Linked DNA regions of Homo sapiens: region 1 is linked to region 2. The links are contacts of gene promoters, found by promoter capture Hi-C in blood cells and fetal thymus (Javierre and others, 2016). All regions are on one chromosome and are shown on one strand. Each heading gives the region's core, a stretch centred on a gene start or on the middle of the fragment in contact. The rest is flanking DNA. Distances are from core to core; before and after follow the strand shown.

What was found. Contacts are between HindIII fragments. The CHiCAGO score rates a contact against its expected background, and 5 or more counts as called.
Region 1: a contact is called between a fragment that was not itself captured here and the fragment with the promoter of CCL20 in region 2, in 1 of 17 cell types (M0 macrophages). The highest score is 5.5, in M0 macrophages.

The regions. Positions count from the first base shown.
Region 1 is chr2:224,999,689-225,004,598 of GRCh38, reverse strand. All of the region lies in intron 1 of DOCK10 (dedicator of cytokinesis 10), which reads left to right. Among named protein-coding and RNA genes, the nearest start is that of MIR4439, 8.4 kb to the left of the region's middle. The HindIII fragment of the contact is 6,368 bases long and covers 1-4,683 here.
Region 2 is chr2:227,811,150-227,815,793 of GRCh38, reverse strand. It overlaps CCL20 (C-C motif chemokine ligand 20), which reads right to left and starts at 1,952. Exons shown (of 4, transcript NM_004591.3): 1 at 1,807-1,952; 2 at 226-340. The coding sequence starts at 1,882. The HindIII fragment of the contact is 16,817 bases long and covers 1-4,644 here.

The sequences.
Region 1 (4,910 bases), core at 250-2,749, 2.8 Mb after region 2:
CTCTGTGGCTCTGGGAAGTTATTTAACCTCTCTGAGCTTCCAGTTTCTCAACTTCAAAATAAGGATGCACTAGTTTCCTAGGGCCACCATAACAAATGAGCATAACTTAAGTGGCTTATGACAACAATAGATATTTATTCTTACAGGCCAGAAGTCCAAAATCAAGTCAGCAGGGCCACACTCCCTCTAAAAGTTCTAGGGGCAAATCCTGCCTTGCCTCCTCCAGTTTCTGGTGGCTCCAAGAATGCCTTGGCCTGTGGCCACACAACTCCAGTCTCTGCCTTCGTCTTCATATGTCTTTCCCACCTTTTCTTCCTTTTCTCTCTGTGTCTTTTCCTCTGCTATCTCATAAGAACACTTTTCATTGGATTTACGGCCAGCTTAAATAATCCAAGAGGATTTCATCTTGAAAGGCTTAACTCATCTGCAAAGAGCCTTTTTCCAAATAAGGTCACATTCATGAGTTCCAGTGATTGGGATATGGGCATATCTTTGGGGGAGCCACTTTGCAACCCACTGCAAGGAATGATCATGATACTTACATCACAGACAAAACGAAACGAGAAAATGCTGAGCACATACGACACAGTCAAGAAATGTTATCATCATTTTATGATAACTATCTCCTTAGTTTGTCATTATCATGTTTATTAACATTTTGATAGACCTAACTACATTTAACATAACAGTGAGCTCTATTATGATTGGACCTGTAGAGCAGATGTAAAACTCCAATTGCCACTGAACAAGTCACACAGAGAAAAGATGGCCTCTTTCCCCAAAGCAGCTTGGGAGTCACTGGCCTTATTTTATCAGTGTAAATGCACATTATGGACTTTAAAGAGACAATATTTCTTGTGGTTTAAGAGATAGGATGGCCATTAGGGATCAGGGATGCTAATGAAACATCAACAATGTTACCTTGTAAAATTTTGAACAAATACTACTATTAGATAAAACTTTTAATTTGAAACTAAAAGAAGTGAAGCGTATGTCTGTGTTTTAGATTTGCCTTTTTTGAACAAAAGGTTCATTCAGTCAAACATGAAGTCAACACACTCAGGAAAGTGTCAGGATTTCCAGATTGTGGGTCTTTCTTCTGATTCGAGTTGCATCAGCCACGGTTCTAAGGAGAATTCTACTCCCAAGATCAGCATTCTAGTGGAATCATAAAAGGTCCCACACCACCATCAGTGAACTTAGGATCTCCATGGGGATGTTTACCCAAAACTCAAACTGAAAAATGTAACCTTCCAGCCAGGCACGGTGGCTTACACCTGTAATCCCAGCACTTTGAGAAGCCGAGGCAGATGCATACTTGAGTCCAGGAGTTCAAGACCAGCCTGGGCAACATGGTGAAATCCTGCCTCTACTAAAAATACAAACATTAGCCAGGTGTGGTGGTACACACATAGTCCCAGCTACTCGGGAGGCTGAGGTGGGAGCATCACTTGAGCTCAGGAAGTCGAAGCTGCAGTGAGCTGAGATCATGCCACTGCACTCCAGCCTGGTGATAAAGTGAGACCCTGTCTCTAAAATAGAATAAAATAAAAATAAAAATGTAACCTTCAAATTCCTTCCCATTCTCAAATAGAGATGGAATTTGTCACTCTCAGAATTTACCCTGGTCATTTCTCGGTTCTTGCTGTCTGCCCCAAGACAGACCACACTGATGTGGTTCATACCAGTTCTGCAGTGTTGAGCGACCAACAACATTCTGTGGGTGACGAGATGCCACCTGCTGGCTTTTTTCTTTCTGCATATGTGGATGTTTACACCTGCCCGATCATGCAAGACAGACCACACTGATGTGGTTCATACCAATTCTGCAGTGTTGAGCATCCAACAACATTCCAGACTGTTTCTGGAAGCTGTGGGTGACGAGATGCCAGCTGCTGGCTTTTTTCTTTCTGCATATGTGGATGTTTACACCTGCCTGCCCATGCAACTAGCTCCTCGTGGCATGGCGTGGCCATTGTCTCACTATGATGAGGAGTCACTGAGACATTTTCTGTCTCCAAATATTCTCATCAGTTAACAGTTAAAGAGAGCTGAAGAGCTGACTAAATCTCAACTACTGAGGCCAAAGAAATGTATGACTTATCTATCAATAAAGGACCCTAAGAGGTGGAATCAGGCTTACATCTATGTAAACTCACTGAGAAAGCCGTGTTGTCATTGCTGTTCTTGGTCTGTGCCTGCTTTTATTCAGCATGCCACTTGGTAATGGAAACTTGAAGAAATGATACTACAAATAAGTGATATTGAGGATGACAGTCTGTTCATTTTTAAAGGGCAAAATGGCAAAAAGGATGCATTTGTCCTTTCAGACCTCTTCTCACAATGGACAGCAGGGGGCAGTGCTAATATAGGGAGAGTTTAGCATCAGGTAAACAAGTGGTATCGGCCTTCAAAAGTCAGATGCCTTCGTGAGCCACATAGCCTTTCACATTTGAAATACTCTAACTCACTTTTCCTCCCAAGTGTCATTTATTCATCCTTCACGGCCCAGGTCAAATAGCTTAGACTCTGAGAAGCCATATGGAATCCCCCTGACTGAATTACGCTCCCTCTCTCTTGGCTATGGGTTGCTTATGTGTGTCGCCTTACCATCTCCCCCCAGATTCACATGTTGAAATCCTAACTCCTTAGACGGTGGTATTAGGAGGTGGGGCCTTATGGAAGATGGTTAGGTCATGAGGGCAGAGCCCTCAGGAGTGGGATTAGTGCCCTTACGAAACAGGCTCAAGGGAGCTCATTTGCTCCTCCTACCATGTGAGGACAAACCAAGGAGATGCCATCTGTGAACCAGGAGGCAGGCCCTCACAGACACCACACCTGCCGACGCCTCGATCATGGACTTCCTGCCTCCAGAACTGTGTGAAATTAATTTTTGTTGTTTATAAACCACCCAGGTTATGGTATTTATTATAGCAGCCTGCATGGACTAAGACACTGCCCTTCCACAGTATTGCAAATAAAACTCTATTATAGAAAGTCTGTTGTATACTGGCCAGGCACAGTGGCTCATACCTGTAATCCCAGCACTTTGGGAGGCTGAGGCGGGTGGATCACAAGGTCAGGAGATCAAGACCATCCTGGCTAACATGGTAAAACCCCATCTCTACTAAATACACAAAAATTAGCCAGGCATGGTGGCGGGCACCTGTAGTCCCAGCTACTTGGGAGGCTGAGGCAGGAGAATGGCGTAAACCCGGGAGGCGGAGCTTGCAGTGAGCTGAGATCAAGCCACTGCACTCCAGCCTGGGTGGCAGAGCGAGACTCCGTCTCAAAAAAAAAAAAAAAAAAGGTCTGTTGTATATTGTTGTGTAGCTCTTTTCATTCATGACTTACCAAAGTCCCGAGCACCTACCTGCTAGTTCATCTATGTACTTACTGATAAATGCATATACCCTGAATGTGGCCAGACTACTGCTACTATTTCTACTATTAGTAGCTAACCAGTCACTTTAAAGTACTGATAAAATATCACTGCCCATAATAATGTTTGGCATCCCACTGTTGACACAAAACAGCACTAAGCCACTTCATAGTTTAACTCCAATTAACACATCATTAGCCAGATTAACACAATAGCTTCTAGTGATTAATTTTTTTTCTTTTTGAGATGGAGTCTCACTCTTGCCTAGGCTACAGTGCAGTGGCACGATCTCGGCTCACTGCAACCTCTGCGTCCTCAGTTCAAGCGATCCTCCTGCCTCAGCCTCCCGAGTAGCTGGGATTACAGGCGTAAGCCACCATGCTCAGCTAATTTTTGTATTTTTAGTACAGACGAGGTTTCACCAGGCCAGACTGGTCTCGAACTCCTGACTCCAAGTGATTCTCCTGTCTCAGGCTCCCAAAGTGCTGGGATTACAGGCATGAGCCACCCGGCCTGATTTTCTTTCTAGTAGTAGCCTATGACCTGTTTCGGGCAACCTTTCTCTGAGGGAAAGACACAGAAGCATGGCTGGCTCGTAGAGTCACTACTGTCAATCCCTTTTTCCCGCCCTACTGTTGGCGTAGACACCTTGGAGACATTGTGAACGTGTTGAAATTCTCCAGGCCTTCTCACAGGATTGGCACCAATTGCTTTCAATGAATTACGAACAGGAAATGCTCAAAACAATACAATTGTTTCTTCCTTTGCTAGAGAACTCAACTTTCACTCTTCCGCATGTGGAAAGCACAATTCCACGAATGACTGTAATAAATAGAATATGTGTTTATAGATACTAGGAGATCCCCAGCGGTTCTTTCCTTCTAGTTTTAGAATCTGGCCACATAGATCATTATAAACTGCAGCAATAAGACTGAAGTCAGTTTTCCATCATGTGTAAAACCAGTAATTGCATGTGTGTGTGTGTGTGTGTCTGTGTGTGTGTGTGTGTGTCTGTGTGTGTGTGTGACTTGAGTGATCCCAATGCTGCTTTATAAATGATAGAACATAGCCTTTGTGGCTTCGGAAGACTCATCATGAATCTTCCCTGGGCCAGCTATATTTTTGCATAGAAAGTGTATGAAATTGAAATTCACATCTCTTCCCTTTGGATATACTGTAATTTTCAAACTGAAGGTCATTTGCCAATTCAGCAGTTCCTGCTTCAGTGCCTTGTGACATCAGGCAGGATGCTGTCTGAAGAATGATCAGAGAGATCCTGTTGCACCACACATAATAAAGCTTTCAATCCATAGCTGAGCTTTTCCAAGCTCTTGGCATGCAATAAAATACATATTTACTGTTGCATACTGTCAGACTGCAACTCTCAGGTTGGAGACCTTGGAACCGCCGCTTCTTTGGGCTTAATTTTTCTTATCTGCAATTATGGGCATTCAACCAGACAACACTCATTTTAGACTAAAGAATCTACCAAAAAAAAAAAAAACACCATTATAGTGTTTATGGATAT
Region 2 (4,644 bases), core at 703-3,202:
AAAAAAGGTTTTGCCTTATTCCAGTCCTGTTTAAAGTGAACTTTAAAGTAGATATGTACTAAGACAAAGCTATCTTTGCCACATCATTTCTTTCTCTTTAAAATAAGATCTTATGTTCAAAACATCAGTAATTTCTGAATGAAACTCTAAAAAGGCAAACATTTTTAAAACTGAAGTTTCTAGGTATTCCTGATACAACTGAATTAAAATCAATTAATAACTTACATGATAGCATTGATGTCACAGCCTTCATTGGCCAGCTGCCGTGTGAAGCCCACAATAAATTTAGGATGAAGAATACGGTCTGTGTATCCAAGACAGCAGTCAAAGTTGCTTGCTGCTAAAAAAAAAAAAAAGTGAAAGGTATTGGATCCACATGAATAAACTTATCCTGTGATTGGTATTATAAAACTACCTTAAGTTGTGAAAAATCTAGTGAATCTCATGTATATGACGAATAAACCACTTAGAGGAGGAGTTTCAATGTCTTGGAAACCTTTGTAAGGTCGTTGAGAACCAATCTAACATAGTTTACAGTTCTTTGAAAAAACAGTTTGTGTGCCGAGAAGTTTTGGTTCAATAATAGAATTGAGAAACACAGGACTTCTCATAAGTGGGATATCTTCAGTAAGAAATACAAATTGACAATATTTCATTTCAGTTCACTATAATCATTCAAGAATATGAGCAGCCCCTTCCCTACTGCTTGAAGGAACCCTTATGTAGATAAACTTCCAAAAGCAGAAAATGAATAAATTGGCAGATTTTAATCTATTATCTGGCTACTAAGTATTGAGAAATAGAGCTACAAAGGGAAATATGATTTATAGGAGTGAAAACACTTTGAAATTGTCCTATTAATTAATAGGAATGTTTAATTTTGTTCATAAAAGTTCAACATGTGGTTGGGCATGGTGGCTCATGCCTGTAATCCCAGCACTTTGGGAGGCCAAGGAGGAAGGATTGCTTGCCTCCAGGAGTTCGAGACCAGCCTGGGCAACACAGTGAAACCCTGTCTCTACAAAAAAAAAAAAAATGTAAAAAAATTAGCCAGGTGAGTGGCACACGGCCGTGGTCCCTGTTATTCAAGAGGCTGAGACTGGAGGTTCACTTGACTCCAGGAGGTTGAGGCTGTAGTGAGCTGTAATCATGCCACTGCACTCTGGCCTGGGTGATGAAGTTAGACCCTGCCTCAGAAAAAAAAAAAAATTCAATGTGCATTTTTAGGAATGCACCTGTTGCTAAAAGTGTTGTGTGACTATTGAGCAATAAAGCAATACTTGGACATTCCCGAGTCAGATTACAACATGCTGTAAGGTAAGGGATTAATGTTATTTTAAAGTTGGCAAGCAATGTCCCCCATGCCTTGTGGGGATGTTGATGTCAGGTATTATAATCTACTTCTAAAGGATGAGTTTTGAACTTTACCAAAACTATTAAGTTGGGAGGTACGAAAGTTGGGGACACAGGAGGATTCTCTACATTTCAAAATGGCCCCATCTACTGGTAACATTACACACTTTATATCACTCCCAGAAACATCACTTTGGCTTTATCCTGAAGTTTAGGGATCTCTAAGAGCCCACCACTCCCCAAATCTGCTGAGATTGACAGCAGAGAGGAAAGCCTGATCCGCAGCAGTAACTCTTCTCTCCTCCACTCCACCATGGGCAGACAACTTCCATCACTACCTCTTGTATACTTCCTAACAGTTTTCCATCCCTTAGGGACCCCCAGTTGAGCTCAAGGCTAAAAGGAAAATGAAAATAGTCTTTCTTCTGTGCTAGCGGAAAGAGCGACACTTACCTTCTGATTCGCCGCAGAGGTGGAGTAGCAGCACTGACATCAAAGCAGCCAGGAGCAAACTCTTGGTACAGCACATGGTTTTTAGCTCAAAGAACAGATCTGCTCAGTGTTGAGTACCCAGTTCTTTGGGAGTGCTGTTATATTCTGACAGCAGCCTGGGATGGCCCTATTTATAGCAAATATTGGGAATGTACACAGAAGGCGTGTTGCCACATGGGGTTTTCCCCATTGATCAACTGGCCCCATCATGTCATCATAAAAAAAACCCGCAAGGAAAACTTCCTGCTTTTTCCTCATATTGGGAAGGTGCGAAGGTCAGGGTGGGGGACAGGAAGTTGAGAAGGGGAGAATCCTGTTAAATTCTTTGTATTTGCAAAGAGCAAAAGCAGCTCAGCCCTGTGACCCAGAAAAGACTTTCATCCAGTTTTAACTTAATCATTTTTGTGTCTGAAAATAGAGGATTAACAGCGATACAAAGGTCAGCCCCACACAGGAACATTCCAGAACTCCTATTGTTACACCCTATTTGCTTTCCAGAACCAGTCAAGGAGGAGGGGGAGGAGGAGCAGGTGGGATGCCAGGCATACTCTGCTACACATTTACCATCACATGGTTGAGGTTCAGCTGTCATGAAGAAGACCCTGAGTTGCTAGACTAACATTCAGAGCAGGTACTATAACAGTGCTACAGTACTGTCCGCAGTTAGAGTGGAAAATATCAGCCTTTAAGTAAGGCTCAAACCTCAGCTTCACCTTGATTTAATGTCAACTCTTCTAAGAATCTTATACATTCACATGGCTTTAATCAATATTGCAGTTCAGAAAATAATCCTTACCTACCTTTAACTCTCCATGATGATGTACTAATATAACTCAATATAGAGCCTCAGAATTGTTGAGGAAAGAAAACCTATCAGCAGTAGCTAGTCAGCACAGCAAATGTCAAATAACAGTACTAATGATGATAATGTAATATGAATCCCTAACCTAAGGCAGTATAAGAACTCTCCACTAGACCCAAATAGGTTGAAAGTAAAAGGATCAAAAGAAAGGTATACCAAACAGTAAACAAAAGAGAACTGGAGTTGGTGATGCCTATATCAGACAAAATAGATTTTTTTTTAATGTTACCGGAAATAAAAAGGGACTTTCATGGTAACACAAAATTAACCCATTGGGAAGATGTAAAACCTATAACCATATATATACCTAACAGTAGCACCCCAAACTACAGAAAGCAAAAACTGACAGAATTGAAGGGAAGAATAGGAAATTTTATTTTATTTTATTATTATAATTTCTTTTGAGACAGAATTTTGCTCTTGTTGCCCAGGCTGGAGTGCAGTGGCACCATCTCGGCTCACTACAACCTCCGCCTCCTGGGTTCAAGCGATTCGCCTGCCTCAGCCTCCTGAGTAGCTGGGACTACAGGCACGTGCCACCACGCCCAGCGAATTTTTGTATTTTTAGTAGAGACGTGGTTTCACCATGTTGCCCAGGCTGAACTCCTGACCTCATTACAGGCATGAGCCACCGTGCCCAGCAGAATAGGAAATTTAACAATAAAAGTTGACAGCTTTGGTACCACATTTTCACTAATTAATAAAATTTAGGCAGAAGATCCACAAGAAAATAGAAGACTTGAACAACACTATAAGCCAAATAGACTTAGCAGGCATCGAAGGACTACTCTATCCAACATCAACAGAATAGTTGCACATGGAATGTTCTCTAGGATAAAGCATATGGTAGGTTATGGAACAAGTCTCAGTAAATGTAAACCGACTGAAATCACATAAAGTATACATTCAAACCACAATGGAATTAAATCAGAAATCAGTAACAGACAGAAAGGAAACCACATATTCCTAAATAACCAATGTGTCTGGCCAGGAGTGGTGGCTCATGCCTGTAATCCTAGCATTTTGGGAGGCCGAGGTGGGTGGACTGCCTGAGGTCAGGAGTTCGAGACCAGACTGGCCAACATAGTGAAACCCTGTCTCTACTAAAAATACAAATATTAGCCGGGTGTGGTAGTCCATGCCTGTAATCCCAGCTACTTGGGAGGCTGAGGCAGGAGAATCGCATGAGCCCAGGAAGCAGAAGTTACGGCGAGCCGAGATCACGCTACTGCCCTCTAACCTGGCCAACAGAGACTCCATCTCAAAGGAAAAAACAACAACAACAACAACAATGTGTCAAAAGAAAAGTCACTAGAGAAAGTAGAAAACAACTTTGAAATGTAAAAAAAAGTCCACAACATATCAAAACTTATAGGATGTAGCAAAAGCAGTCCTCAGAAGGAAACTTATAGCTGTAAACACTCACATTAAAAAAAAAAAAAAAGAAACATCTCAAAACAATAACCCAAACTTCTACCTTAAGAAACTAGAGAAAAGCAGAGCAAGCTAAACCCAAAGCATGCAGAAGGAGGGAAATGAAGATTAGAGCAGGAATAAATAAAACAGAGAATGCAAAACAATAGAGGAAATCAACGAATGCGAAAGTTAGTTCTTTGAGAAGATCAACAAAACTAACAAGCCTTGACTAGACCAAACCAAACAAAGGAAAGGGAGGTAAAAAAAAAAAAAAAAAAAAAAAAACTGTATGCAAATAAAATTACTATGCCGACAGCACAGTAAAAAGATCATACACCATAACCAAGTGGGATTTATTCCAGGAAATGTAATACAACAAATCAATCAAATAAAAAATAAAAATGATTTGAAAAGCAACTGACAAAATCCAACACGTTGTCATGACAAAAACACTCAACTAACTAGGAATAGTTGAGAACTTTCTCAACCTGATAAAAGTCATCTATGACCACCTCACAGCT